Linked DNA regions of Homo sapiens: all the other regions are linked to region 1. The links are contacts of gene promoters, found by promoter capture Hi-C in blood cells and fetal thymus (Javierre and others, 2016). All regions are on one chromosome and are shown on one strand. Each heading gives the region's core, a stretch centred on a gene start or on the middle of the fragment in contact. The rest is flanking DNA. Distances are from core to core; before and after follow the strand shown. Region 1 holds the start of TMPO (thymopoietin). Region 2 overlaps USP44 (ubiquitin specific peptidase 44). Region 3 holds the start of ARL1 (ARF like GTPase 1). Region 4 holds the start of UTP20 (UTP20 small subunit processome component). Region 5 overlaps SNRPF-DT (SNRPF divergent transcript). Region 6 overlaps CCDC38 (coiled-coil domain containing 38). Region 7 overlaps CCDC38 (coiled-coil domain containing 38).

The links. Contacts are between HindIII fragments. The CHiCAGO score rates a contact against its expected background, and 5 or more counts as called.
Region 2: a contact is called between a fragment that was not itself captured here and the fragment with the promoter of TMPO in region 1, in 2 of 17 cell types (activated CD4 T cells and non-activated CD4 T cells). The highest score is 7.2, in activated CD4 T cells.
Region 3: a contact is called between the fragment with the promoter of ARL1 here and the fragment with the promoter of TMPO in region 1, in 1 of 17 cell types (activated CD4 T cells). The highest score is 9.6, in activated CD4 T cells.
Region 4: the fragment with the promoter of UTP20 here is called in contact with the fragment with the promoter of TMPO in region 1 in 5 of 17 cell types (total B cells, fetal thymus, non-activated CD4 T cells and 2 more); the score reaches 8.4 in total B cells.
Region 5: a fragment that was not itself captured here is called in contact with the fragment with the promoter of TMPO in region 1 in 2 of 17 cell types (naive CD4 T cells and non-activated CD4 T cells); the score reaches 6.6 in naive CD4 T cells.
Region 6: a contact is called between a fragment that was not itself captured here and the fragment with the promoter of TMPO in region 1, in 1 of 17 cell types (activated CD4 T cells). The highest score is 7.4, in activated CD4 T cells.
Region 7: a fragment that was not itself captured here is called in contact with the fragment with the promoter of TMPO in region 1 in 4 of 17 cell types (total CD8 T cells, total CD4 T cells, activated CD4 T cells and 1 more); the score reaches 12.6 in total CD8 T cells.

What each region holds. Positions count from the first base shown.
Region 1 is chr12:98,513,313-98,517,517 of GRCh38, reverse strand. It overlaps TMPO (thymopoietin), which reads right to left and starts at 1,928. Exons shown (of 9, transcript NM_001032283.3): 1 at 1,372-1,928. The coding sequence starts at 1,650. TMPO-AS1 (TMPO antisense RNA 1) reads left to right here and starts at 1,292. Exons shown (of 2, transcript NR_027157.1): 1 at 1,292-1,527; 2 at 1,621-4,205. RefSeq lists a silencer at 1,169-1,438 and enhancers at 1,779-1,968, 2,229-2,308. The HindIII fragment of the contact is 4,246 bases long and covers 1-4,006 here.
Region 2 is chr12:95,544,996-95,549,200 of GRCh38, reverse strand. The region is part of intron 1 of USP44 (ubiquitin specific peptidase 44); the gene reads left to right. Among named protein-coding and RNA genes, the nearest start is that of USP44, 4.4 kb to the left of the region's middle. The HindIII fragment of the contact is 341 bases long and covers 1,080-1,420 here.
Region 3 is chr12:101,405,828-101,410,032 of GRCh38, reverse strand. ARL1 (ARF like GTPase 1) reads left to right here and starts at 2,261. Exons shown (of 6, transcript NM_001177.6): 1 at 2,261-2,391; 2 at 4,052-4,189. The coding sequence starts at 2,388. RefSeq lists enhancers at 2,599-2,648, 2,729-2,778. The HindIII fragment of the contact is 1,758 bases long and covers 1,050-2,807 here.
Region 4 is chr12:101,278,240-101,282,444 of GRCh38, reverse strand. It overlaps UTP20 (UTP20 small subunit processome component), which reads right to left and starts at 2,340. Exons shown (of 62, transcript NM_014503.3): 1 at 2,118-2,340; 2 at 1,249-1,329. The coding sequence starts at 2,162. RefSeq lists enhancers at 2,267-2,316, 2,050-2,641. The HindIII fragment of the contact is 7,469 bases long and covers 1-2,600 here.
Region 5 is chr12:95,849,021-95,853,225 of GRCh38, reverse strand. The region is part of intron 1 of SNRPF-DT (SNRPF divergent transcript); the gene reads left to right. Among named protein-coding and RNA genes, the nearest start is that of SNRPF-DT, 7.7 kb to the left of the region's middle. RefSeq lists cis regulatory regions at 2,140, 3,063 and enhancers at 2,068-2,212, 2,991-3,135. The HindIII fragment of the contact is 3,673 bases long and covers 538-4,205 here.
Region 6 is chr12:95,865,097-95,869,301 of GRCh38, reverse strand. It overlaps CCDC38 (coiled-coil domain containing 38), which reads left to right. Exons shown (of 16, transcript NM_182496.3): 16 at 2,113-2,254. The coding sequence ends at 2,226. SNRPF (small nuclear ribonucleoprotein polypeptide F) reads right to left here. Exons shown (of 4, transcript NM_003095.5): 3 at 3,914-3,978; 4 at 3,162-3,297. The coding sequence ends at 3,231. Among named protein-coding and RNA genes, the nearest start is that of SNRPF, 8.2 kb to the right of the region's middle. The HindIII fragment of the contact is 5,394 bases long and covers 1-3,980 here.
Region 7 is chr12:95,935,858-95,940,062 of GRCh38, reverse strand. It overlaps CCDC38 (coiled-coil domain containing 38), which reads left to right. Exons shown (of 16, transcript NM_182496.3): 2 at 3,540-3,590. The coding sequence starts at 3,554. Among named protein-coding and RNA genes, the nearest start is that of CCDC38, 4.7 kb to the left of the region's middle. The HindIII fragment of the contact is 1,082 bases long and covers 1,936-3,017 here.

The DNA.
Region 1 (4,205 bases), core at 679-3,178:
ATTTGAAGGAAGGAATAATTTCGGTTTAAACTAGTGATCATTCCCAACAACTCCAAACACCACATTCACTGTCTCTTACAAGGCATTTTATGTTACACCAATTACTAGTTTTAGCTTCATCCTATTACGATTTGAAGCCTGGTAACTCGGCAGGCATAAGCAAACCCACAAAAAGCATATTAAAATCCACAGGTAAAAAAGCAAACTATTCTGAAACAAAACATGCTTTGCTGGAGCCGATTTGAGATTTAACCAGGATCAGACATTCCAAATTGCAATACTGATGCACCAGAATGTCATGAAATAAATTTTTCCTGAATCCTAAGTCTTTCGTTTCCTCAAGCAAAATTTACCAATATGTGGGGAAAACGCAATCCAAACTGCAATTTTCAAATATTTGTTTGCAGGGCCGGGCCCGGTGGCTCACGCCTGTTATCCCAGCACTTTGTGAGGCCGAGGCGGGAGGACCACCTGAGGTCAGGAGTTCGAGACCAGCCTGACCAACTTGGAGAAACCCCGTCTCTACTAAAAAATACACAAATCAGCCGGGCGTGGCGGCGCATGCCTGTAATCCCAGCTACTCGGGAGGCTGAGGCAGGAGAATCGCTTGAACCCGGGAGGTGGAGGTTGCGGTGAGCCGAGATCTCGCCATTGCACTCCAGCCTGGGCAACAAGTGCGACACTCCATCTAAAAAAATAAATAAATAAAAACTAAAAAATTATAATAGGCGCCTAAAAATATAGTTTAAAATGCTCCTTTTAATTCGGCATGAACCTGTTCCGCCAAAAGATGGCCTGTTGCTGGGAAAAATTAAAACAAACTAGAAAACATAAACGGTTCAAAAAGCCCTCCACACGCAAAAGTATAAAAAGGCGGGAATTTCCTCATTTCAAATTTTGGTTAGAAATTAGAGTGTCATCAGTTGCCCTCCAGGGAGCGCTCTGAGACTCTGCTGCGAGTCATTTCAGTTAATAAAGCGGGAAAACGCTCGAACTTAACCTATAGCATTTTGGGGCCACCCCTCCAGAGCTTTCGAAAGGGCACGGAAGTCCCCGTCTAAACGCCCGCTGCAGGCGGCTGGTGGTCCAGGGAAGCGGCGTCGACTGCGTGCAAAACAACCGCCGCCAACGCAACTCCACACCTCCCAGACCCACACGTCAAAGAACGCGAACCCCGCGGCCCCAACTTCTGGCCTCTCCGCTCCGGCGCCTGCAGCCCCGCGGGGAAGGGGCGACGCGAGGGGGCGCAGGGACAGCCCCGCACCTGGGAGGCCCGAGGGGGCGCCCGGGAGGGAGGGGCTGCAAACGGCGGCGAGCGCGCGCGGCAACCGCCAAACGCCCGCCTTTGTAGCCCCGGCCCCGCGTCCTTACCCTGCCGACGGCTGCTCGGCTCCGGCCCGCGGCGGCGGCCCCAGAGCCGAGGACCGGGGTGGGCTCGCGCTCTTCGTCACTGGAGAAGTCCGGGGGCCCCTTGCTGTTGGTGCCGGCGGGGAGCGGCGGCCGGTTGCGAGCCGTGAGGTGCTGCAGGTAGAGCTGGACGTACACGTCTTTGCGCTGCTCCCCGGCCGGCAGCGTCACATTGTTGGCGACCAACTCACTCTTCAACTTGTCTTTTGTCAGGACCGAGGGGTCTTCCAGGAACTCCGGCATCTCGGGGATCTGCGAAGCCCCCTCCCCACAGCCTTTGCCGCCGCCGCTCACGCCGGCGCGCTTGCTCCTGGCCGGGGACCGCGCTGCCGCCTCCGAGCCTCACGGCTCCTGCCCGGGAAGAGCGCTGCGGAGCGGAACAAAAACTCGCGGACACAAAGCCAAGCCAGACCCGGACACAAAAGACCCCAGAGCCGAACTACGAACCAACTGCGGCCAAGCTGGAAGCTCGCACCAACCCCAGCCCACACACTACAGGCAGGAGGCGAGCAGCCTGCTTCGCCCACGCCCCAAGAACGCGCGCCGCCATTGGCGGGCGACGGGAGGAAGCGCGGCGGTGATTGGCGAGACGGCTCGCGCGGGTTCCATTAGCCGCCGCGCTGAGCGAGAGGAGGTAGAAACGCAGTTTAAAAGGCGCTGGGGCGGGAGCCGAGGCTCCCGGCCCGCTTCTGTTTTCGTTTTCTCCACCCTTCCCCTTAGACGCCGATAAGGGACAGGTCGTACTGCTTTTGTGCGCCGTTTCCTCTCCCTCCCCCAGCTTGAGAAGCAGCTTTCGTCTCTGGGGTCGATCGCCTACGAACGCGCCGAATTCCACGCCAGTGTGAGGACCCTTGGCTGGGCCTTTCTTCCTCCCGGGACACTGAAGCTCCAAGAGTAGCCGCAGCCTTGCCTTCCCCAAACGCTAGCCCTGAAGGGGAAGAAAAGAAGCGAGGCTTGTCTGCAGGCACTCATATTCCTTGATTTGATTTACTTTGGGAGGGGGAGGGCGGGGAGTTACCCCTCTCCTCGCGAACGCTTCTTTTGTTCCAGAAACCCAGGGGAAGCCAGACCTCTACAATCGGGCACTTAAATTACCCTTGAATTTGTGACAAAAGTGTACTATACCATTCACTTCTTAGTGTCATAGTTGGGGCATGTCTAAATTGTTTAATTTGAACAGTGCGTTCAGACGCAAGACAAATTCGCGCTTGCATTTTTGTTGAAACCGTCTCTGGCTTTGGATCCCACCACCCGCAAGAATCCTAAACCTAACGTTTGATAACAAAACGAAGGAGAACCCTTGGGAACCCCCTCAATGGTCAATTTAAAATAACAGATGGTGCATAATCCTAAAGGAAGACTAGTGACCTATAATTAGGCCTAGAACCCTAATCAAACCCGTATTACCGATCCAAATTAAAACCTGGTAGAATCTAATACATTGACTGCAATTAAAATGTTTGCCTGGAAATTAGTATCACTGATGACAAATATTTGTATTTCTGATGAATATGTATGTTTAAAGATGCTTTCTTTCTAGAAAGGAAAGGAGACCTTGGATGTAGGGTGTGTTAATCATTTCCCCAGAATCTGAGCTCCAAACTATGTTTTAGAAACTGGTTAAATTTTTTTTAAATGTTTGCCTGCTTTCTACATTGCTAGGTTAGAATACATTTAAAACAAACGCCTTCACTAAAAATGTTTCCTATGATTTAAGCGACTTACTTTTATTCAAATTGCGATATTATTTCTTTTAGTGATAATTATTTTCCTAGAGGTAACTAATTCCTTTATAAAAATCTCAGTATTCACATACATTTAAGCAATGGTATTAAGCTCAATAATGCAAATTAAAAATCAGGTTTTAATTAGCAAGTTGTTAGGTAGGTTTTTATGATCCCTTGTAAAAGTTGCTTGGTTTTTTGTCCTCACAGCTTCCCTGGACACATAGGCAAATGTTTTTATCTTCAGAAGGGGAACTGAGCTGAGAGGCAAAGGACCATGACTTTGCAATGACTGGTAACCCAGTACGTATAATGCAAGAACTGCATTCTAGATACGCCTGAAATTAATGTTTCCTGGGCAAAAACATTTTCATTATCTTTTTTTTAATCCCTGGACATTAGCTACAGGTGGTTACTTGCAGATTTACTGCTGTAGAGCTCCAAAATTGAGATTACACTTTTCAGATTCTGCGTACCCTAAGGCTAAGAGGTTGGGCTATTGAGTTTGGGTGGTCTCTTTGGTCCTGATTGCTACTTCCAAACCATTTCTGCTCTTTTCTGCTTCAAAAATATTTGAAGTTCATATCTTCTGGCTAAATCACTTTCTACTCTCCTTCCTGCCATCATCCACGAGCCTCCTGGTCACTTTCCAGAAATTATAGAGCTGCTTGCCGTAGGTTTTCCTCACCATCCCTCTTGTCTACATTCTATCTGAATTCAGCATGCTTGTAGGTGACCCATGCAACACCAACACTTGGCCTCTTAGACCTCTGACCTCTTCATCTCCAACAATTTGTTCCTCTCTTGCGTCTTAACCACTTCGGTATCAGTCAGATTCTGAACCTTGTCATCAGTTGAAATCTCAGTTTCAAGCTTCCCAATTGTCAATCACTAGCCTTTTTTTCCCAGCTAATTTATGGTACTCTCACTTACCTAATTAAGACCTCCACGCTATTAACCCCAACACTTAAAAAAACTCAACTCTTCTGCTTCTGCCATCATGTAATAATTTTGCAACTCACCTGACTTAAATTCCCTGATCAGTCCTTTTCATCACTCTTTTACAAACATTTT
Region 2 (4,205 bases), core at 1-2,500, 3.0 Mb after region 1:
AGTTTGCCACGCGTTTCTGCCAAACAATTCGACGTTGTGTAAATCGCAGAAATTCCAGGAAGGACTAACGACGTCCGTGGATGATTCTGCGGCTCACAGGCACACAGGACACGCTGGGTTTACCCTCCCGTGTCCCGACGGCACTACAGGTGCGAAGCCCGCCCGGGGAGGCAGTGCTTGTTGTTCGCGCAGACCCACTTGCGGCGCCGGGGACCGTCCGTGGCCCCGACCCCCCCACGAGGCGCGGAAGGCGGCCACCGGCAGGTTCTCGGTGCCCGCGAAGAGCCGGCGCAGGGGTGGGGCTGTGGGAGGGGGCGGGGCCTGCTGCGCGTCACGGCTGTCGTAGCCGCCGCACCGGGTCGTCGCGGCCGCCGAACCGGGGGGCGGGGGGCCGGGGTGAGCGCTAAGATGGCCGCCCCGGCTCGGGCTGGTGAGTGTGCGCGAGGGCGCGCGGCCGCGGCGATTGGCGGAGTGAGGACCCCTGCGGGAGCGGACGTGCGACGGCAGCCCCCGGGGCCGGGAGGCACCTGGGGGCCTATTCTCGCCGCGCAGGGCGCTGGGGGGTCCTGAGAGAGGGAGAGCCTGGGGCTGCGGGCGCGCGGAAGGGAATGAGCCGAGGGGCGCGCGGCGGCGACGCGTCCGGCGAATTTTGAATTGCCCCCCTGGGAAGTTTCGGTGGGTTCTGCGGCGCTCCGACCCTGTCCCGGCGGCAGCCTCAGAGTGCCCGGAGATGCTGCGGCAAGGCGCAGCGGGCTGGAGGGGGCGAGCTGGGGGAGAACGGGCGCGGGCGAGGGCTTCGGGGACTGGAAGGGGCTTCGCGCTGATCCCGGCACGAGCGTCGTGGAGAGGTGGGCGCGGGGCTGGCACGGGCTGGGCGCTGTGTGGAGCACGCAACGCCCGGGTCCAGCCGCATCCCTCCACCCTCCCGGATTACCGCGAGGTGATGCTCGAAGCCCCGGGGCACTTCGGGAGGGCGGTTGTGGCACTCGGTTGAGGAGGAATGCGCTTCCCGGCGTCTTGCCCGCCTTCTCTCCATCGATCGGTCCCCGCGCTGCCGGCACCTGCTGCCGCTTAAAGCTTGAAAATCAGCTTCCTAAAGCCATTCCCGATGGCCTTCGATGGGAAAGAATGCCATATGGCTGAATTCATTATGGGGGATAAGAAATATGTCAGTGTGCGCGGAGGGGAACCTGTTAATACGTTCAAATTTAAGAGTAGGTAAGACACCATACCCCGCCCCCATGAAAAAAGAAAGTGAACTATATAGTAACTGTTCCAAATGCAAGGTTGAGCTGTTGTTAAATTCTACTGGTAGCTCGCAGTTTTTATACTGGAAGCAAAACCATTTAGGAACCCTTGGGAGATTCACTTTCTCCTCAGACCAGTCCTCAAGTCCCCCACTCCCGCCACCTTTTAAGCTTTAATTGTTGTATCTGGGCAAGTAACGGGGATTGTGAAATTTGCATGGAAATAAGACCTTCAGGTCCTGCACTTGAATTCCTTATCTGTTAAGTAGCTGCCTGTGGGGGTGAAAGTAGGGGTGGTGACTTTTGGGCCTGGAATTCCATTTTGAGTTGTGTTCAAAACGAGCATTTGGTGTAAACAAGGAAAAAGAATGGGCTGTTCACTGTGGTGAAATGCGGAAAGCCAAATAGAAGTTAAGCACATGCTTAGAGAATATTTCATAATCTCAATGAGATTCAATATTCAGTTGAATCTTGAAAGAGATGAAAATTTGTATTCTTGGAACTCTAATCGTTTTGTCCTTAATTTAGCATCTCAGGATATTTTAAAGAGCGTTTAAATGTTTTGGCACATTCAAGTTTTCTCTCCCCATTCTATCTTTTTTCATAGTAGCCATTAGTTTTGCATATGTTCGATGTCAGATTTTTCAGTCCAGTATTTATCACTGTGGGCTATCCAAATTCAAATGTAGAGATATTCTAATATTGAACAGTTAGTCCAGTGCATACAGTTTAGAAAGCTGAAATATTTTGACTACTTTGTGTATCAGTCCTGTTTTTCTTCCCAAATGTTAATTGTTTGAGATTTTTTAGCTTAAAAATTTTTAAGTGATAAATGAACCTGCATTTAGTATAATATACAATGGTACACTTTTTGGAATATTTAAAATGGAAAATCTGTTGAAGATTTGGGTTAGATATTTGAAATAAATTTTCTACCCAGTTGTCTTTCTCCCTTTTCTACAGATTTATCTTTTCTGTACTACAAAGAAAGAAAGCGTCATATCCACTCTACCAAACTTCTCCTCTACACACTTGAATCTATTACAGCGTTTTGGTGCCTAAGAGAATTTTCTGCTCATTGGGTTGTTTGAGGGCAGAGTCTGTGTTTTATATGTGTATCTCTAGTACCCGACTAACTGCTTAACGTGGAGGAAAAACCCCCGTGTAAATTTGTTGAATTGGGGTTTTGAATGGTAGAGGATACAGAAATTTGGCTTCTTGGTAGCCAAAAACAAAACAAAAAAACAAACACGTGCTTTGAAGTCTCTGTCCTTCCTGCAGTGTTAGGCAGAACAAACGTGGGTGCCAGATTCTAATGGAGTTGTCTGGTCCAGGGAGATTAGCGAGAGGCTGGGGCACGGGCTCAGGAGTCTAATCAAGATAGGAAATAAATCGTGTGCCCGAATAATTCTCTGAATTCAGTAACGGGGGACAGTTTTGCTATTAGGCCCAGCCTAAATAGGTGACAAATAACTGAAATACAGGAGGATTCTACAAATAATGGCTTTCTGGCTAAAAGGTGATTGTAAAAGGTGTAACATTCACAGCAATTTTAGACGCCATAAAAAACTTTATTAGGAAGAATTCATTTTTAATGGAGTTTTACACGTCATAGGAAAAAGGTAATTTGTAGTCTAACGATATACTTGCTAGATCAGATCATAGATGTGCTGGAATGACAGAGTCTAGGCATTTTACACACAGAGTATTTGAATTCAATTTTTCAGACCCTTGGTAGGATGCTCAGTATTATTCTGAATGTTTCTCCCATTGTTACGAAGTTAGCTGCGGTAGATTGATGTGTAAATTTGTTGATGTGACACTGATGATAAATGTTTTGGAACAAAATTACTTGTTAAGTAGGGATGGGGGTGAGAAATTCAAATAACCCGGAGGCAGAAACTGCTTTCAGGAGCTTTATCTTACAACGTGTTCAACTAGATTCAATCTCTGCTTCAGGAGAGGCATGTTAGAGACATGAGGAAGGCCCAAGGGAAAAGGGTGTCCTTTATTGTTTAATGAGGAGTTCCAAGCAAGATCAGGGTAATTATAGATTCTAGATCTCTAAAGGAAGAAAGAATAACCAGGGCCTTTCTAGGGATAAAGGAAAGGAAATACATCATGATTGACATGGAGAGGTGCCAAAGCACATAATGGACATAATAGCATACCTAAGAGGGAGTAGGGGAGGGTTTGAGAGCCCATTGTGTTCATTCGCTCAGTAATTTGTTCATTCAAAAATATTGAACCCCTTTCTGTGAACCAAGCACTGTGCTTGACCCTTGGCGTTTCACAAACATTTCTTAAGAGGACAGAATACTATGGTGGTTCCGTGAAGTAAATGGAAAATGGAAAATTGCTTATACGAGTGGGTAAGATTTACCCTAATTACTGCAAACTATGGATAAAGTTGTTTTCATTCTTATCCAAATGCATTGTGGTGGTTAGTAATTCCTAAGGCCTACTTCCTACCGAAATTACCATTTCCTCCTATCTTTTATTATGGAAAATAACAAATCATACAACTTTTAATAGCCTGTAGAGGATCTGTTTGGTTTGTTACTGTTTAAAGAAAAATGTTTTGTTACAAAAATTATCTTCATTAAAATAGTCAACATATTCTCCCTCTGGGAGATTTCAAGTTTTTTTTTTTTCGTTTTTGTTTTTAATGAGATGGTTACTGTGACACTTTTATTTTTAAATGTGTTCTATTTTATGCCCAGTGGTACTTATATTTCTTCTTTCTTTAATAGAGTTAGAATGTATATGTGTTCCTGTAAAATATGAATGCCCATTTCTTATGAAAATCGTTTATATCCCAATTATGAAGAGTTTTAAAAATTAAACATTCACAATAAGATTTGTTAAAAACATCTTAACAAAAGATGTTTGGGAAGTAGTTAGTCATACATGAGAGTAGAAAAGTGTATATTGTTCCAAAGTTCAAAGGCTTTTATG
Region 3 (4,205 bases), core at 1,012-3,511, 2.9 Mb before region 1:
TTTCCGTGAACCTGTGGTTTTGGGGGCAAGGATGAGAGCAAGAGGCAAAAACTAGTTCAGAACCTAGACAACTAGTGGAGTCTGCAAACAAATCAAAACCAAGATAGGCATGGTTGGTGAGCATGTAAATTGGTATAGCCACTATGGAAGGCAGTATGGAGGCTCCTCAAAAAATTAAAAATAGAACTACAGTATAAACCATATAGTATATACCATATATATCATATATGCATATGTACCATATATACAATATATACGTATATACCATATATTCTGGGTATATATCCAAAGAAAATGAAATCAGTATGTCAAAGAGATATCTGCATCACCATGCTCATTGCAGCATTATTCATAATAGCCAAAGTATGGAATCACCTAAGAGTGAACTGATGGATAAAGAAAACGTGAAATGTAAAAATGTGGTATATGTATGTATATTTATATATATAATGAATACTATGCAGCCTTTAAAAAGAAGAAAATCCTGTCATTTGTGACAACATGGGTGAATTTATGCTAAGGGAAATAAGCTAGGCACAGAAACACAAATACTTCATGATCCCACTTATATGTAGAGTCAAAAAAAGTGGAACTCATAGAATGAGAGCAGAATAATGGCGGGATCTTGGCTCACTGCAACCTCTGCCTCCCAGGCTCAAGTGATCCTCCCATCTCAGCCTCTCAAGTAGCTGGGACTACAAGTGCCACTGTGCCTGGCTAATTTTTTTATTTTTTTGTAGAGATGGGGTCTCACTATGTTGCCTAGGCTGGACTCCAACTCCTGGGCTCAAGGGATCTGCCCGCCTCGGCCTCCCAAAGAGCTGGGATTACAGGCCTGAGCCACGACACCTGGCCGACCTTAAATATTCTTAGCACAAAATAAACATATACACACAAGCACACACGACTATGTGAGGTGATGGGTATGTTATCATTTCACAACATATACAACTATGAAAACATCACATGGTACACTGTAAATATATACAATTTTTATTTAAAGCTAGAAAAATTCTTTTAAAATAAACTAAAAAGGCAGTCCATAAGCTTCTGTTGAATGGATGAAAATCTCTACCATAAATAAAAACATAATATGCAAAGGTATTAATAAGATTTGGAAGAAAACCTAAGAGAGTATTAACAGTAGTGACTACTGGGGATCACCGAGATACAGGGTATTAGGGATGGAAGGTTTACTTTTCTCTTTTTTTTTTTGAGACGGAGTGTCGCTCTGTCGCCCAGGCTGGAGTGCAGTGGCACGATCTCGACTCACTGCAACTTCTGCCTCCTGAGTTCAAGTGATTCTCCTGCCTCAGCCTCCTGAGTAGCTGGGACTACAGGCGCCCGCCACCACGCCTGGTGAATTTTCTGTATTTTTAGTAGAGACGGGGTTTCACCGTGTTAGCCACGATGGTCTCGATCTCCTGACCTCGTGATCCGCCCGCCTCGGCCTCCCAAAGTGCTGGGATTACAGGCGTGAGCCACCGCGCCCGGCCGGAAGGTTCACTTTTCAATGGATCTTTGGGAAGTTTCAAAACATACATGCTCAACCTTTAAAAATTTCTCTAGGGGAAATCCCTTCTCCACATCCTATAGGTGTGCTTCCTTCTTCCTCTCCACACACTTCACTATCAAAACCTACATTACTTCCAACAGTCGACCCTCGAGGGAATAAGTCCCTGGTCCCCACGATCGGGACCAGCCAGTCCACACTGCCGACCCCTGAAAGGCGGTCTCAGCTGCTCGGTCAGCGAGAAAAAAAGCCGGCGAGGTCCTCGTCCTGCAGGCCACAGCGAAGACAAAAACCTCTGGTTACTGGCCTCAGGTGCAAGGCTGCTCCGCATTGGCAGCGCGGTACCATTCCTATTATTATTACGTAGTCTTGTTTCTTTCTGGGAGAAAGCACCTAGGGAGAGTTGGGCTGGCCCCGCAGGGCGCTCCGGGACACGCGTCCTCTGCAACGCCGCAGCCTGCGCCAGCGTTCGACCGGGACGACTCATCGAGGCCCGACTCGCATTTTCAGTTGTCAGATTCGCCACTTTTTGGTGTCAGAATTTAAAACAAAAATTCCAATTTCTCTATTTCAGAAGCTCTTTCTGTCCAGAAAAACACAAGCAGGAGAGACTTCAGGTTTTTGAATTATTCGTCTCTTCTGGCCTCCACGGTATCTACATCCAGTGAGCGGGGACCGTGAGTCGAAAGCGACGACGCGGATGCTCAGGCCACCGTTCCCGGCGCGCAGTCGCAGCTGACCCTCGCTCCCGCCCCCGCCTGGAGTCCGACGTGGAAGTTGCTGGCTGACTGGGCTTGCGAGGAAACCGCCTCGGAGCTGCAGCCGAAGGCCAAGGAATCACTGAAGATCGGCGAGGGAGGACAGGGGGTTCATCATGGGTGAGGGGTTCGAGAAGGGCACCTGGGCGCGCTCGAGGGAGCCGCGGCCGAGGGCTGGGGTGCAGAGGAGGAGAGGGGCCGGCCAGGATACCCTAGAGTAGCCAGCTCCTCAGGGGGCGGGTCGCGGAGGACTTGACTCACTTTGGATCTTCATCTGTAGGGGTGGATCCGGCCTCTCGCGTTCTCCTCCGTCCTCTCTCGGTTCCCCTTGATTCCTGCGGGGTCCAGGGACCCGGACAGCTTGGGGACGTCCGCAGAGCCTGGGTTCGAGTTCTTTACCCTTATCATGAAGTTTTCCCTCATCCCCAGCTCCACTTGCTGGGCAGAGTTGTTCTTGCGGAGGCTGGCAACGCGTCAGTCGCAGGTTCGCCGAGGTTTCTTGGTGAAAGATGAGCTGCGGCCCCAGAGTGGAAGCTTAATCATTCTCTTTACCAGGGGCGCTGGGACGGCGTCAGTTTGAAAAACCTGAGAGCAGGTGTTGCTTATGTTGTTTTATGGCCAGTTTGGCATTTGTCTGCTAATCTGCTGTAGCGTTTCATGTAATAATACGGGTATTTCTAGTCGGCAAATGAAACTTTATTCTTGGTTCTTGGCCCGCTGATTGAGGGAACTGCATTCTCACAAGCATCAGGTAACACCCTCGCCCCGCTAGAACCCAAGTGAGGGTGCACATTCTTTAACTCGTTTCTCACCCTCCAAATGAAGGTGCAGATTCTTTGGCTTGGTTAAATCCCTCCACAGTTTTCTGGGGAGCATACTTCTTGCTCCCAAGCATCACAGGCGCTGTCCTGTCTTCCATAACCGCCTTCAGTTTTGTTCCGCCTCTCTTCTACCTGTAAATGGTAGAAAGGACTTTGTCAAGTCACACCTATTCTGTTGAACTTTCCCAAGGTTCTCTAGCCCATGGTGTTGTTCATTTTTCAACTCGCAGCTCTTAGTTATGCCATGTCTTTGCCAAATAACAGTGTGGCATCACTTCTGATGTTAACTATTTTTTTTTGTATTAATGTAACTTGTTTTTAATCTTCTCTAATGGCTCTGGATGGGAAAAGGACTGTGCTTTTTATCCTACACAATACTTGGTGTACAGGAAGCTTTCTGGGAATATTTTGTGATGCATTGGATAGAGCTTTATTATTTTTAAAAGTGGGTTTTTTGTCAAAAATAGTTATTGTTTTCAGCTTTTTTCTCAATTTCTTGTACTAGCTATATTGCTTCGTGGAGAACTCTGATTGAAGTTGGTTATAGTGGTACTGCTGCTGTACAGTACTTTTCCTGTGCGAGGATTACATTGTCCCACTATCCTCCTTACTGGCCCCTTGGTTTTTAGGGGTAGTGAGGGGATCATGCTAAAATATTCCTATTCTGCTGATTAGAAAATGAGATTCCCAAAGGCCGCGGCCATATTTCTCTTATTATTTGGTTTATCTTCTGTGCCTGCATGACACAATAGTAACATAACTAAGGACATAGTAACATAACTAATTACTTGTTTGATATTGAATAATATATTTCATTGGGAGGAAAAATATGCACCTACGCATCCAGGAAATTATAATATTTAATTTGGTATTTAGCTCTCAAAGGACAAGGTTAGATGTTTTGTATACCTAGTTCACAAAATGACATTGTGTATGTTTTTTCTTTTATTATTTTTTAGGTGGCTTTTTCTCAAGTATATTTTCCAGTCTGTTTGGAACTCGGGAAATGAGAATTTTAATTTTGGGATTAGATGGAGCAGGAAAAACCACAATTTTGTACAGATTACAAGTGGGAGAAGTTGTTACTACTATACCTAGTAAGTGTTGGTATGA
Region 4 (4,205 bases), core at 1,091-3,590, 2.8 Mb before region 1:
ACCACACTGGACTGCTTTGCAGTTTCTTGAATGTGACATGCATTCTCTAGCTTCTGTTCCTTTATATAGGCTTCTCCCTCAGCCTGGAACAGGCTTTCCTGTCCTCTTTACCATGCTAAAACCTATATAAACAAAATTCAGGTGTCACCTCGTCTAGATCACCGTTTTTTTGACACCCCTAAAGAATGTAGGTTAGGTTCCCTTTACTATGAGTTCTCAAAGCACAATGTGCTCACCTAGACGACATCATTTAACACATTGAATTTACACAGTGGAGATAATGCATTCAAAGACCCAGCGAGTGGAGTCTGATTATAGTAAAGAAGAATATTACGAACTGAGATTGGATCGCCAAGGTATAGGCATGTTACGTACGACCTTAAAATGCTAGGAGGAATAACGACATGATGCAGAAAAAGACTTCTGCATAAAAGGATGACAAGGCCGGGCGTGGTGGCTCACACCTGTAATCCCAGCACTTTCGGAGGCCAAGGCGAGCAGATCACGAGGTCAGGAGATTGAGACCATCCTGGCCAACATGTCAAAACCCCGTCTCTACTAAAAATGCAAAAATTAGCTGGGTGTGGTGGCACGTACCTGTAATCCCAGCTACTCGGGAGGCTGAGGCAGGAGAATCGCTTAAACCTGGGAGGTGGAGATTGCAGTGAGCCAAGATCACGCCACTGCACTCCAACCTGGAGACGGAGCGAGACTCCATCTCAAAAAAATGAATAAATAAATAAAAGTAAAATAAAGGGATGACAGAGTCAGAGTATGGTTAAAACTGGAAAATATTATGTAGTCTAGCCCCTTTATTTTTATAAAGGAGAAAATTAAGCCCCGGGAAAAGGGCTTCCTCAAAATCACTTTAAAGTTATAGCTTCAGGAATATGGATCTGCAGCAGTGCTTGGAATGCATAAGGGAAAGGGAGAGGCTAGAATCACAAAGACAGCTGAAAGTCAAGTCAATTGTCTAATAGAGCTTCACCCAACAGAACTTTCTGCAAAGATGAAAATGTTCCAATTCTATATTTATTCAATATGTTAGCAACTAGCCACATTTGGGCACCCAAATTTTTAATTTACTTTAAATCCAATTTGTCATATGTGGCTACTGTATGAAACAGCACAGGTCTAAAGCATTTCATGTCCAAAAAGGAATACCTTGAAAAACAATTCACTTCTACTAACAGAAGAAACTAAAACACCATGAACACTTGAAGATTGACTAGTATCACATTCTCTTACCTCCTCATAGCTTGCAGTTCTATCAATCCGGTGAATAATATCAATATTAACATTCCCCAGTCGTTCAGCAAATGTAAGAAACTGGAAGGGAAAGTATATTTAAGATACATAATTAATTAAAATTTATCAGATCTTTAATATCTATTTGAATGCTGCATGTAGGCATCTCTAATCACAAAGGATAAGTGGAAAAATAAACTGAAAAACATACGGCCGTAAACAAATTTACTGCATCACTGTTCAAAGATAATGAATACTTCTATGTTTGCATAATTTCTCTCAGCTATGTCATTTCAAATAAAATTTCCATTGCCAGACTGGTGAGCCTAGGTGGATGCTGGCAATTAGTCTCGCTAGATCTATTAGGTTTCATACCCTCCCATAAGCATGGGGACCTAGCAAAGTCGCTGCAATAAAAGTGTTTTTAAACATATACAGACCTATGATTGTATCCTAAGGAAGACCTGGAAACAATCTATCAAGGGGCAAACAGAGAAAGCGCTGTATATTTGCCCTTAGCTGGGAATCACTCACCGCCAGCCGACTCGCCCAATTCGGTCTTTAAAGATAAAAGAGCAGGGGAGAATTGGTCCTAAGCAATCTCCTGGAATAGTGAATTTAATTCTGGACTACAGGAAATTCCCAGGACTGGCCAGACCCCATAAAACATGGGTGAAACTTGCTGTCCACACTTCTTTCCTCCTCCAACCCATGTTTACTACATCCAGTGTCTCCCTCTTTCGCCGGAGCCTCCAGGAAAGTGACACACTCGGCCCAGAAGTCTGAGGCCCCTGGAGTCTCGCTCAGAGCCTGTCTCACGACTGAGGCAGCGGAGACCCGCGGCTCCCTGCCTAAGCTCCCGCGCTCACCCGGTAGGTGTTCTCGGTCTTGTGGGAAACGGGCTTTGTCTTCATGGCTGCAGAGGGCCAGTGGCCCGCGACGGCCTCGGGAGTGTCGAAGGGATGCAACCGACAGTAAGGAGGGGAAAGCGGCTCACAGGCTATACTCTCCGATTCCCAGATGCCCAGACTTTCTCACGTGCGGCTTGAGCCCCTGGGCGCCGCCATGTTGGAGACAAGGAGGAGCCTGAGTGGGTCACGTGGACGGAAAAAAGAACGGCGCAGGCGCACCCTTTGGTGGGGTGGGGCCTACAGGAGGCGGGGCTGCGCACATAAGGGCGGGCGTTTGGGTGAGGTGTTCTTTTCACTCCCTTCGGTAAAGGTTTAGAAGACAAATGTATTTTCATTATAAAATAAAACATACCTGTAATCGTTATCAACTAACATTACTGTCCCTCACTACGTACCTGCATCGTGCAAAGATCCTTTCATCCATAATTTCACAGTAAAGCTTATTAGGGATGTTAATACAAAGGAGGTACTGCGTCTATCTATATATCTATATATAGATATATACTTTTTTTTTTTTTTTTTTGAGACGGAGTCTCACTCTGTCTCCCAGGCTGGAGGGCAGTGGCGCGATCTCGGCTCACTACAATCTCCGCCTCCCGGGTTCAAGCAGTTCTCCTGCCTCAGCGTCCAAAGTAGCTGGGACTACAGGCACCCGCCGCCACGCCCGGCTAATTCTTTTGTATTTTAGTAGAGACGGGGTTTCACCTTGTTGCCCAGGCTGGTCGCGAACTCCTGAGCTCAGGCAATCCGCCCGCCTCGGTTTTCCAAAGTGCTGGGATTACAGGTGTGAGCCACCGCGCCTGGCCGGTACTGTGTATATTTTTAAGCCAATTTGACACAAGAGGAAACCAAGGTTGTGCAGCTGGTAACTGGCAGTCTTCACTCAGACTCTAAATTTTGGTATTCTTAACCACTACGCTGTAAATAAAATTGAAAAATAGAGAAGGAGTTTTAAGAAAAATCTTTTAATTTCATGCACAACCGCTGTTAATGTTTGGTGTTTTTCCCATCACTTTAATGTCTACACATAGCATGTTGTTAAATTGTACAGTTATATATACATATATGTACAATTTTAAAAAATAATTTAAAAATATAATTATTTACCCCATTTTACATTCATTCATTCATTCAGCAACTATTTCTTGAGAGTCCTCTGTGGACCAGGTACTGTTCTGGGAGCCAAACGAGAAAGGCAATAATAGTATTAATTAATTATTTGAAAATATTCACAGCCTTCAATTCCTGGGCTAAAGTGAGCCTCCCACCTCAGCCTCCCAAGTAGCTAGGGCTACAGGCATGCACCACCACACCCAGCTCTTTTATTATTATTATTATTATTATTATTATTATTATTATTATTTGTAGAGATGGGATCTTGCTATATTGCCCAGGCTGGTATCAAACTTCTGGACTCAAGCAGTCCTCTTGGCTTGGCCTCCCAAAGTGCTGGGATTACAGGGGTGAGCCACCATGCCCAGACTGGAAATACTTGGTCTGAGATGCTTACATTTTAGTCAAGGAGTGATGTTAAGTAGACAATTGGATATATTGTTGTACAGAGCTCACTGTAGCAGTCTGGGCTGCAGACGTGACTTAAATACACCTAAATACCTCAAGTGTGAGGCATTTGCGACTGGGAAAGAGAGCCAGTAAGGTAGAAACAGACTAGTTATGGCATGGAAGCAGAGCTGGTGGCCAACTATACTGCAAATTCGAGGATAGAGAAGTGGTTGCTGGATCTGACAAGGTGAAGGTCACTGGTGACCTTGCTAAGTACAGTCTAGTTGGAAGAAAGGAAGTGAAATATGCATGGATTGAGGAGGTAATCAGAGTTGAGAAAGTGAACATAACACTTTCAAATTGTTATTGGCATTATCACATCAACATTTTCTGTGTCACCACAGGGTTGTTCTAAATATTTTAATGCCTCCATAGCATTTATAGATTTTTTTATAATAAAATATTGACGTGCCTAATGTTCCATTGGCTTTCAGTAGGCTAATAATTGGTCTTTTTTTTTTAAAAGCCTTTTATGGGTCACAG
Region 5 (4,205 bases), core at 1,125-3,624, 2.7 Mb after region 1:
TGTTCATATATATTGAGTTATATTAAAAAAGCAGTATAGGCCAGGCAGTGTGGTGCATGCCTGTAATCCCAGCACTTTGGGAGGCCGAGGTGGGTGGATCACTTGAGGCCAGGATTTCAAGACCAGCCTGGCCAACATGGTGAAACCCCATCTCTACTAAACCTCGTCTCTACTAAAAGTACAAAAATTAACCAAGCATGGTAGTGCATGCCTGTAAGCCCAGCTACTCAGGAGGCTGAGACACAAGGATCACTTGAACGCAGGAGGCAGAGGCTGCAGTCAGCCGAGATGGCACCACTGCACTCCAGCCTGGGCGACAGAATGGGACTCTGTCTCAAAAAAAGAAGGCAGTATATACGGCAGCAGAAGATAATAAAAACAGTATATTTAATAGCACATTATATGATTGTTTTATATGATTGACAACATAATGGTTGATAATGCTGGTTCTAGAGGCCAGGTTCGAATCTGAGTTTGAATCCTGCCCCCAACACTTACTAGTGGGAACTTGTGTAAGTTACCCGCCCTCACTAAGCTTATTTTCCCATGACATAGGGATAATTGTTTCTTTCTCCCAGTGTGGTAGTGGATGTTAGGAGTTAGTACAAGGTTGTTCCTCTATCCTTCCTGAAGATGTGGTTTTAAAACCATTAGATGGAGTAAGCAAAGTATGCACCTGTGCTGGGGTATGGGGGTAGTCACAGTGGTCTGAATGGAGTGAGGAGAACATCCACATAAGAGAGCAGCCAGTGTGGGGTGTCAGAGCCTGAGCAGGAGGAGGAAGGTATCTACATAGGAGGGCAGGCAAACATGGGAAGTTGGTGCCTGAGGAGGTGAGGATGGTGATCACGCATGGCGAGGGGCAGCCCAGCACCAGCCATTGGAGCCCAAGTAGGATGAAGCATCCCCAGAGGGTGGCCTGACAGGGAGTGTTGGAGCCTGAGTGGGGTTAAGAGGGTGTCCACACTGCGGGGAAGAGGGTGGCCTGCTGTGGAGTGTCAGAGCCTAAAGGAAGCAAGGAGGATGTCCATGCAGAATGACCTGGCACACGGTGTCAGAACCTGAATGGAATGAAGAAGAAATGCAGGGGAGGGGACAATGGCAGGAAGGGAAATTTGTTACAAGGGCACTAATCAAAGGAATCAACCTATAATAATGAGCATACTTAATGCTCAGGTTTTAGTTTCTAGAAACTGCTTCCCACTAAAGGAATCAGGATCCCTTCGAACATTGGCTATTTTCAGTCTTCTTCACTATAGTAACTGGTAGACACCATCTTATTACAATCCAGTGATCAAACAACTATCGTTAGCAACTGGAAAATCAAAATCAGGTGCCACATGATAAGATGCAAAGAAAAGATGCATTCTGTGATATTCTTACCAAAGCCACATAACCTGAATCTAGTAATCAGGAAATATCAGACAAACCACATTGAGGAACAAAGTGGCCTGCAATGTTCAAGAGTGTCAAGGCCACAGAAAGATCTCCATGATAAATTGCTGAGAAAGACAAGGCACCGAATAATTTGCAAAATATGCTGCCTCTGTATAAAAAGAGAAAGAAGGGGATAACAAGCTATCCATTTCTGTGTATGTGCATAAGTATACTGGAGGGCTCCTAAGATACTAAGAACACGGGTTGCCTATGGGTGTAGTGGGAACTACACTGAGGGCAGACAATGATGAGATGTTTCACTATGCATTTTTTAAAAACTTTTAATTATGAAATTCACATATTAACCATTTCAAAGTATACAATTGAGTGGCATATAGTACATTCACAATGTTATTGCAACCACCACCTCTATATAATTCCAAAACATTTTTGCAAGTTCATTTATTTGTTTGTTTGTTTTGGGATGGAGTCTCGCCCTGTCACCCAGTTTGGAGTGCAGTGGTGCAGCCTCGGCTCACTGCTAACCTCCGTCTCCTGGGTTCAAGCGATTCTCCTGGTTCAGCCTCCTGAGTAGCTGGGATTATAGGCACATGCCACTACACCCAGCTAATTTTTGTATTTTTAGTACAGACGGGGTTTCACCATGTTGGCCAGGCTGGTCTTGAACTCCCGACCCCAAGTGATCTGCCTGCCTCGGCCTCCCAGAGTGCTGGGATTTCAGGCATGAGCCACTGTGCCCAGCCCATTTTCACAACTTTAAAAGAAAACTCTGTAGTCATTAAGCAGTTCCTCCCTATCTTCCTTCTCTCCTAGCCCATGGCAACCCTCAGTCTGCTTTCTATCTCTATAAATTTACCTGTTTTGGATATTTCATATAAATAGAAACAACATGTGACCTTTTATATCTGGCTTTCACTAAGTGTAATGTCTCTGAGCTTCACCCACATTGTAGCTTGTTGTAGTAGTAGTACTTCATTCCTTTTAATGTATGAGTATGATTCCACTGTATGTATATACCACATTTTGTTTATCCCTGCACCTGTTAATGGACATTTGGGTTGTTTCCACCTTTTGGCTACTGTGAATTTTGCTGCTATGAGCATTTGTGTACAAGTATTTGTTTGAATACCTGTTTTCAATTTCTTTGGACATATACCTAGGGGTGTGGAATTGCTGGGTCATATCATAATTTTACACAGAACTTTTTTTGAGGAACTGCCAAACTTTTCCACAGCAGCTGCGCCATTTTATATTCCCACCGGCAATGTATGAAGGTTCCAATTTCTCCACGTTCTCACCAACAATTTGTTATTTTCCGTTTTTGTTGTTGTTTTAATTATAGCCATGCTAGTGGCTATAAAGCAGTATCTCATTGTGGTTTTGATTTGCATTTTCCTAATGACTAATGATGCTGAGAATCTTTTCATTTGCTCATTGGCCATTTGTATATCTTCTTTGGAGAAATATCTGTTCAAATCCTACATACCCTTTTAATGTTCTATTTTTGGAACTTTTGAATGTATTGCCTACTAAAATAAAAGAAAAAGTCATTTAATTGTCTTGGATCTTATTTTCTTCCTTTATACACTGTAGGGATTGGGCTAGATCAGAGTTTTCAACCTTGATATTATTGACATTTTGGACCAAATAATTCTTTTTTCTTTATTTTTCTTTTTTTCTTTTTTTGAGACCCCGTTTTTTTGAGACGGGGTCTCTCTCTCACCTAGGCTGAAATGCAATGGCTCAATCTTGGCTCACTGCAACCTCCACCTCCCGGGCTCTAGTGATCCCCCCATCTCTGCCTCCCAAGTAGCTGGAACCACAGGTGTGCACCACCATGCCCAGCTAATTGTTTGTATTTTTGGTAGAGACAGGTTTTCGCCATGTTGTCCAGGCTGGTCTTGAACTCCTGAGCTCAAGCAATCTGCCTGCCTCGGCTTCCCAAAGTGCTGGGATTACAGGAGTGACCCACCGCAACCAGCCACAAATAATTCTTATTTTGTGACTTGTCCTGTGCATAATAGGTTGCTTAGCAGCATCCTTGGCCTCTACCCATTAAATGCCAGTAGTCCCTCCCCCACCCAGGTTTGACAACCAAAAATGTCTCCAGGCATTGCCAAATGTCCCCTGGGGAGCACAGTTGCCCCTGGTTGAGGACCACTGGAGATCAATGGCCCCACAGGCCCCTGAACCTGGATCAGTTTGCAGGTAGTGTTGTGGCTTTGCAAACTATTTTCAAAAACAAAGAAAAATAACCAACAAATTGTACATTTATTTTAATAAAGACACTATAGACTAAGACCTCATGTGTCTTTGCTTTTGCTTGGAATGAAGTCACCTTAAAATACGAATACTGGTGGATCATCATGGGTCAGAAGCTCTGACTGGCATTTATTTATGTATCTGATTATTAAAATGGGAAACAAATTTTAAATAAGTAATGTCTTTGAGTTTTGTAAATCATAGATTCAATCTGTGGGGGCGAGTAGATAATAAAAGAAGTCTGTGGATGAAATGGCTGGAAACCACTCAAGTAGATGATCAGTGTTCAATACTGACTTTAAACACTTTTCTGTTTTTTGCCATGGTTCCAGCGGGTGGCAGTGGTGAATTTGGAATAAGAGTTCTGTTTGCCACATAAGCACTTCAAAGTTAATCAGTACAAATAGGACTTCACTGTTCTCAAAACACTAAAGGAAACAAAACAAAACCTCATGGAATTTTCCCCATAGTATCCTGTGCCATACAGTCTCCCCCCACCTCCTTCACCCCTCAAATGTCTCCATTGAATCCAATTTTAAAAAATA
Region 6 (4,205 bases), core at 34-2,533, 2.6 Mb after region 1:
TCCAGTTCTCAATTAGACACACATTTTAGTAAAAGAAGCCTCTTCTCTCCTCTTTTTAGACCTAGGTTCATTAAAATCAGATAATTTTTTTCTTGTTTTTTGGAATAGATTAAAAGCATATTGTTCAAAGTTCAAAAGATACAAGAGTATTCAGTATAAAGTCAGTCTTCCTCAGTTCCCCTTCCTGAAGGCAACCACTGTTAACAGGTTCATTTGCATCCCTCTGGAAATATACATACACAAATATGTATTTATGTACATATTCTTTTTCTTACTAATGATAACTAGGAACTTGGCTTCTTTCACTCAGTAATGTTTTGGAGATGTGAACCCAGAGAATCGCATGTAACTGTGGGGACTGTGTATAATCCCCACATTGTAAAGACAATGAGATTGACAGTTGGAGTTAAGATGATTTGCCCAGAGTCACTTTGACTTAGCAGCACAATCAGGACCAGAAGCCAAAGTTCTTTATTTTGCAAGACTACCTGTCCAATCAGAAGTTTGGGATTAGGTAGTCAGGTACATGTGGTCCATCAATTCTACACAGGGTAAGGAGTTTGTTTCTATATGACACTCTTTCCCTCCTCTGGGATAGCATCTGAAATATGTTCCAGAAAGACAATTTCATGGTTATCTGCAAAGCTATTGCGGATGCTGATTCTTACCACAGTGATAGCTAACACATAACGAATGCTTACTGTGTGCCTTACAACTAACCTCAAGAGGTAAGAACTTGAAAACAATTCTGAAGTATGGGAATTAATATGTGCCATGACAAAAAAACGATTACTTCAAAATATTTTATTGAAATAAATACTTCATCTTAAAAAAGGTATTTATCTAGTTCAATTCTTTCCATGAAGACTTTCCTCACCTGTCCTCTCCTCCCAAGAATTAACCATTCATCACCCTTCCACATGGACTACTTAGCAAACCCACCAAATTGAAATTATTATTTTTTAATATATTCACCTTTCCTTCTAGACCATGAGTTTTATGACGTTTGTATTCCTAATACCTGGCACATCATGGATACTTGATGTGTAGTGAATTAACAGACTAAAAATGAGCATAAAAACTAAAACTGGAAAAAATTGGGGGAAAAAATGGTTATCTGATAAATCAACAACACACAAAGACCTCTGATAGAAGCTGACCCAGTTAGGACACTTCATCATTGCTAATTTTCTCAGACACTATTAATAACAAATGTTACCAAAGATCTTTGACAGTTAAAAATTCCGATATTGCAGAAGGAATTCAAAAATTCTAGTCCCCCAAGGATATTTTTGTTGTTACAATGATGGGGAAAAGTGCTATTGTTATTCAGGTTCTCTCAGGCCTGCAATGCAGGGGACAATCTCACATAAGAATTGTCCTACAATGTCAATAGTGCCTTTTGAACACAGTGGCAATGTCCCATCAAATCTCATAGAATTATGGTAGTTTCCCCACTTATACATTTAATGTATACAAATTCAGCTATAAAAGCAAAACAAAATAAAAAGTGGAGGAGGGAATCCCAAAAGTAAAGAGAAAAATAAGTAGTAATATATTTGAGTATATATGACCCAGAGAGAATGAATAGGTATGAACTCGGGGTTTCCCAAAGCCTCTTCTGTTGGGAACACCTCCAGAAGCCAACCAGTATTCAAGATGGTACATGGTTTTCTGGACTTTTTATTTAACAAGATTTCTAAATGCTAGTCAGGTGCTCAACAGGAGAAAGCCATCTCTTCCAACCATGGACGAAAAACTGGCTATGGCACTTACTGAGAAATAAAATGGTGGCCTTCAACATGGTGCTTTTCTAGGCTGACCACATTTGAACCATATACTATTTGATGACTTTACCTAAGTTTTCCCACTTCCCAATAAAACCTAACTGCTGTTCCTTCTGCATAGTTATTGGTGTCCAGTTTGCTACTCAACTTTGCCTAGCATGTTAGACATCCGTTAGGTTATAAGTCCCTTTTAACTGTGATTAGTTAATGTTACAAACCATATTATTCCTTGTAAAAATCAAGTTAATATTGGTATTTCACAAATTTCAATAGAAAATGGCTATGCTCAAAAAATATTAAGTATTTTGTTTTTCTTTTGTTTCAGTTGGGAAGACGACTTGTCTTTCATTCAAAACCTCCATCTGGTAACAAACAGCAGCTACCTTTAGTCAATGAAACAAAAACAAAATCACAAGAGGAAGAATATTTTTTTACTTGAATAAAAGCAGTAAGACATTTTATTACCAGAATGTCTTAGGTGTATTTTGTAAATTTTAAGTCTTTAAGTATTCATATCATAAGTATTATTCCATATAGCTAAACACTTTCTTCTATACTTTGAGTTGTCCCACTTGGGGATACACAAAGATAGTTTACTGATAAAACTATGGTAAATGAACACTGAAGTGTAATAATGGCCATTCTCTTACAACATGAGAATGTAAATGATGTATTTTCTCAACCCATCTGTAGGGAAGTTCATAGCATACTGTTATTACTATGGACTATACATTTTAACAATGTACAACCCTAAAATACCTGAAGGGTTTTGAGGGGCTTAAAACTCAACCTCGAGGTTATGTCTCAGAACATAATGGGGAGACTGGTTTTTATTTGACATTACATTTTGTTCAGAGAACTTTTTTCTCTTCAGTGAACAAACCGTATGCCTTCAGCCTGAATGTCAGTTCCCAATTTCTGTTGTGCCCTGTCTGTACAATCATTTTAATTTTTAGAAGATGCTTCAATTTTAGCTGCAATATGTGCATTTAGCTTATATTGACACAGAATTAACATGTAATTTATTGACTACTAAGTAAAATAAGACAGTATATTATTAATACCAAGAAAATGTTTAATTTTATACGTTAAAAGTAGCTCAAAAATAACTTTAAAAGAAAAAGTTGCATTTAAAAGGTCTCAGCTAATAGATAATTTTACAAGAAAAGGTCTGAAATTCACCTTCATAAAAATATCTAAAGCATATAAATAATTATCCTTTATGGGAAAAAAAAGAATATTGGGCTTACAAAAGAAAAGCAACTTAAATGAAATTCAGTGGCTTTTAAAGCATTAGTTCAGTGAGTAATCTTTCCCAATTGGTTCATCATTTCAGCTTTGCTTGTAAATATCTGAATACAAATAGTTCACAAGTCAAGTTGAAAAACAAACAAATCTTTATTGTCTAGAAATATATATAAAAAAAATCCCCCACAAAAGATGCTATTCTCTCATTTCCCCATCTTCTTCCTCTTCTTCCACACCTCTGATATAAAGGACATTATTACACCTGTAAATAGAAAAAGTCGATTTTGTTGTTCCAACCAGAAACCATGTATGATATGAATTACTATATTTTTATTATGAAAATACTGAATACTATATTTATAATATTCTTGTCTTTAAAAAAATTTTTTAAATATATTCATTTTAAAAAAAAGTTTCACATAGATTTGTTGAAAAGCACATGGCACTTATTTTCCACCATATGGTTGTTATAAAATGACATCTTTATGATTTTCCAAAGGAAATAATTACCAGAATTTGGAGCTTTGAAGCTAGTACAGAAAATCAATATAACAAAACAGCCAGACCCAACTAAAATTCAAAACTAAGTTCCCGCAACAAAGGCCACTGCAAAAGGTTGCCACTGCAAAAGATTATAGCTAAGAGCTAGAAAATTAAACATCAACACTAGAAAAATCTTTTGGCCAGTTCCAAAACATTTGAAAACTTACCTTTGACAAGTTTAACAATTTCAAAGACTTCTGAAGTCTAACTGTAAAGTATTATAATAGTGATTTTTTAAAAAAAAGTAATTCCAAAATTGAGGCACTAATATATTTAGAACAGGTATTCCTAATGCTCACCAGTAACTCCTTACATATACTACTGCTGTTTGTTACCTTATTAAAACTTCACCCAGATGTCCAGACAAAGCTCCATCTATGTATTCTTCTGTATTTGCAAGCTTTCAATAAAAAGAAATATATTAGTATAATCACACAGGAGGAAAATATTACAATACAGCTAATATTGGTGAGAGAACTCATTAACTGAGACCTTTCTATACCAACAACTCAAATTTATCTATAATTAATAAACAGAAGATGAGCTTTCTATTACTATTGTAGTACTTTTGGTTTCATATAAACCTTCAACGAAATTAATATTCAAAGCTTGTTTCAACATAAGTTT
Region 7 (4,205 bases), core at 1,227-3,726, 2.6 Mb after region 1:
CAGGCACTTTGCATATATTATCTGTGTTTGAAAATTGCACCAGGCCTGTAAGGAAGGTGTTATTATTCATACTTGATAGAAGATTCTACAGTGCATTAAGCATAATTCTCTAGACCCAAGAGAAAGAGTGGATAAGAGTCAGAGGCAGGAGTTAAACCTACCTGCCCCCAAAGGCCAGGGGTCTTTCCATAGTGCCATTCCTACTACCCTTGCAATGACACTTGTCAAGAGACCTGACTCAGAGACCACATATAATTGTACAGCTATTAAAGGAACACAACAATTAATTAAATCAACCAGCATGGGGTTCACTTGAAAGAACAGTATACATTACACCCATGTCCCTTTAGATATCTAATATATATCTCAAATTTCACATGTTCCAAAATGAGCCTCTGATCTTCCCAAGTGCCCCTTCCCCCACTGCCTTCTCTGTCTCCATTTATGGCAACTCCATCCTTTCTGCAATCAGTTCTTTATCTCATACTCCACATCCAAACCATCAGCCAATCCTGTAGACTCTACTGTCAAAACACATCTAGAATCGGACCACCTCTCACCACTTCCACTGCTATCCCAAGGAAGGGATAGCATTATCTCTTGCCTCCCAGTGGCTGTAGTCTCCTAGTAGATCTCCCTGTGTGACCCTTTTCCCTTTCTACAGTCTCTTCTCAGCTCAGCATCAGAGTGATTCATTGAATGGTTCCATTTCACTGAGAAAATGGCCTCCAGGGCCCTCGTGATCTTGGACTTCTTGTCTCTCTGGCTTCATCTGGGGTGCTGTCCCCTTTGTTCACTGTGTTTAAGGCCCACTGGTGTCCTTACTGTTCCTGAAACACACCAGGCACATTCCTCCCTCAGAGTGCACCTCTCCATGTGCTTACACTCCCATAGCACATACTATGCAACTGAGGCCATCCAAAGGCTGGACGTGGTAACTTACCTAACAATCCCACAAGGTAGATACTATTTGCATCATTCCTCTTGAAAGATGGGGAAATTGAAGTGTGAGGATTAAGGGACATAGAGAGAGTCTATGTTCTTAATCATTTAGCTTATGCGACCTCTAAAATGGATGGCTGGCAGTTATACACCACCATTTTACATTCCTGATATTTCTGAGCTTTTGATCTTTTTCATCTATTGGAAGTTGGATGTGAACGTGTATTTAAGATGTGAACTTTCAGGCATTTGCTATGCAATCCAATAACATTTTCCCTCTCTTTTGGTACAGAGCCTTTGTTTAGCCATCATGCTATTTTTATTTCGCACAACAAAGACATCCACTGACTTCAACATTTTTTCTGATTGGAAAGGGGACTTTATAATCCCTTCCTAACAATAACTGGTTCTGTTCCTCTCCCTCCCTTTTGTTCACCAACCTTTCATTCATCAATACAGGAATTCATGCATATGGAAGTATAGAAGTATAACAACATCTGGAGACTGCTGATTGCATTTACATGTTATATGAACTATATAATAGAGACAGAATAAGAGCAGATATCTGCTCTTAGCAATTGGTTTAAAGGAACAGAACTTCCAGTTTTTCTGTGAGTGAAAAAGTCCTTGAACCCATGGATAAAGATGCTCATTGCAAAAAGACTTTAAGGATAAAGGGAATGAGAGTGGGAAGGAGAGTGAATTTAGATAGATAGAAGGACCAAAGGAGTGAAAATGTGACAAGAAAGAGGTGATCAGAATCCTAAGAGTGGAGATGAGTACAGAGTGTAAAATTGAGAAAATCTACAAATCTTTAGTATTAGCCATCCAAATTCCAAATACTCATCAACCACAGGTTGTCACCAATTTTTCACCGATCTTTCTTTTCCCCCGTGAGAATGAATTTAATGCCTGTGAAAAAATGTTCAGTCATTTGAAAAAGTATAATGTCAATGTTATAGTTTTTATTCATTTTTTTCTCTTTTATAAGCTTTGACATAATTTTTTAAATATTTGTTTTTATAACCACTGGAACTAAAATCAGATGCTAATTAGTAAATATTAGCACATAATAGTTCCCACTTACTGAGCTGGTCTGTAAGCCAGGCACCCCACTTGGTTAAATCCATTGCCCACTGAATCCTCAAGAAAGCCTTAAGAGGTGTGTCCACTTTATGAAACAGGAAGCAGAGGCTCAGAGATGCTGAGTAATTAAGATGTAGGCTCCATGAAGACAATAGTTTTTGTTCTTTTTTGTCTTTTTAAAAATTGCCCTGTCCCCCACACGTAGAACAGTGCCTGACACATAGTAGGTACTCAATAAATGTTTTTTGAATGATACATGAACTTGCTCACACATAAGTAAATACCAAACCAAGATTCAAAAATCAGGCTTGTCCAAAGTCTGTGTTCTTAATCATCTGCTGCTCTGCTTCCGGGATATTTAGCTCTTATATATGGCTCTTTGAGATTCCTGAGGCACATATTTAAATGAGTAGCCCAAAATAGAATGTGTTGTCCATTGTTTCTGCTGCGGGCACATTTTTAAATATAAACTCCTGGGTGTCCTTTATCCCCAAAATGAATATATCTTTATTATTTTTCTCATTGTAACAGTTACACCAGCTCACTGAGAAATTTGAATGATACTCAAAGTATAGAAATCAGAACAAGGATTAGGGTAAGGCCAGTGAAGCTCTAGCTTCATGCATAAAATTTAAGGGGAAAGCAAAAACTCAGTAATCAAAATAAGCAATATTTTAATTCACTATTTTAAATATATAAATTAATGTAAAAAATTCATGATAAATGAAATAACAGAATTTTAAATAGAGACAAGTTCTGTGGGCCAGGATTTGGGTGAGTAGAGTGAGGCACTGGCTCTCAGGGTCACACAAGTACAGGGTCAGAGACTGTCCGTATTTACAATTTTGATATTTTGTTCATTATAGAATTTCCTGCATTTATTTGGAATTTTATAAAAATATATTGCATTAACATTTAATTTATCATAATAACTGAAAGTTGATTTTTTTGTTTTGTTTTTGTTTGTTTATTTTGGCAATCCTTAAGCTTTGCAGCTAAGATTGAGTGCCTCAATCACCTAACCCTAATCCCAAACCTGGTAAAAATGAGAGACTGCACCAAATCACATGTAATCAAGATTCATGTTTGATGAATGGCATTTCAAACACCTCTCAGATTTTTGCATGCATTTTTTAATCCACACTATCCCTACTCTTTTGAAATGTTTTGTTTTTTAACCAATACCATGGAGAGAGGTAAATAGTGACTACAGCATCATTTTAAGGGCCAACTGGAATTTATTTTATGGATATACCATAGTTATTTGGTCAACTCTGTATTTATGAAATGACATTGAACAAACATTATTGCACATGCTTTTTTGGCTGCTTGTCTGATTATTTTCTTGACATAAGATACCAGAATTGAAATTGCTGGGTCAAAGAGTATGTGTGTGCTCACTGCTTTTAAAAGCCATAAGGACTGTTAAGGAGTCATTGGCAGTTGAATTTAGCCCTTTTATATGATGTTCATAGAATTTTTAAAAAACGTATTTTTTTTTCTTTCAACAGGGCCAGGCAAGAAAATGTCCTCAAATTTATTGCCAACACTGAATTCTGGAGGTAAAAAGAAATCAATCAATATATTCTTGTTTGGGCCTGGCAGTGTTAGGCTCCATAACAGATTGTGAGCATAAGAAAAGGAGAATGTTACACCATAAATATAAAATGTAATGAGTTTATAAACTACCTGCAGAGAAGATTCTGTTCTACTTTTTAATTCAAAAAAAAAATCTTCAAATCAGAGGGTGCATTAAATTGTCATATTTAGCCAGATTGCCCCAGTCTCTCATGACAGAAAACAAGTAACTCAATTATTTGTCATAGTCAAGGACATACCTAACTAAACTTTATGAAAATCTGCCCTCTTCTTTCCTTTCCCACCCTTTCTCATCTTATCCTTCTGCCTATTTTTTATTTTTATTTATTTTATTTTATTTAATTAATTACTTTTTTTGAGATGGAATTTCGTTCTTGTTGCCCAAGCTGGAGTGCATTGGCGCAATCTTGGTTCACTGCAAACTCCGCCTCCTGGGTTCAAGTGATTCTCCTTCCTCAGCCTCCCAAGTAGCTGGGATTAGAGGCATGCACCACCACGCCCAGCTAATTTTGTGTTTTTAGTAGAGACAAGGTTTCACCATGTTGGCCAGGCTGGTCTCAAACTCCTGACCTCAGGTG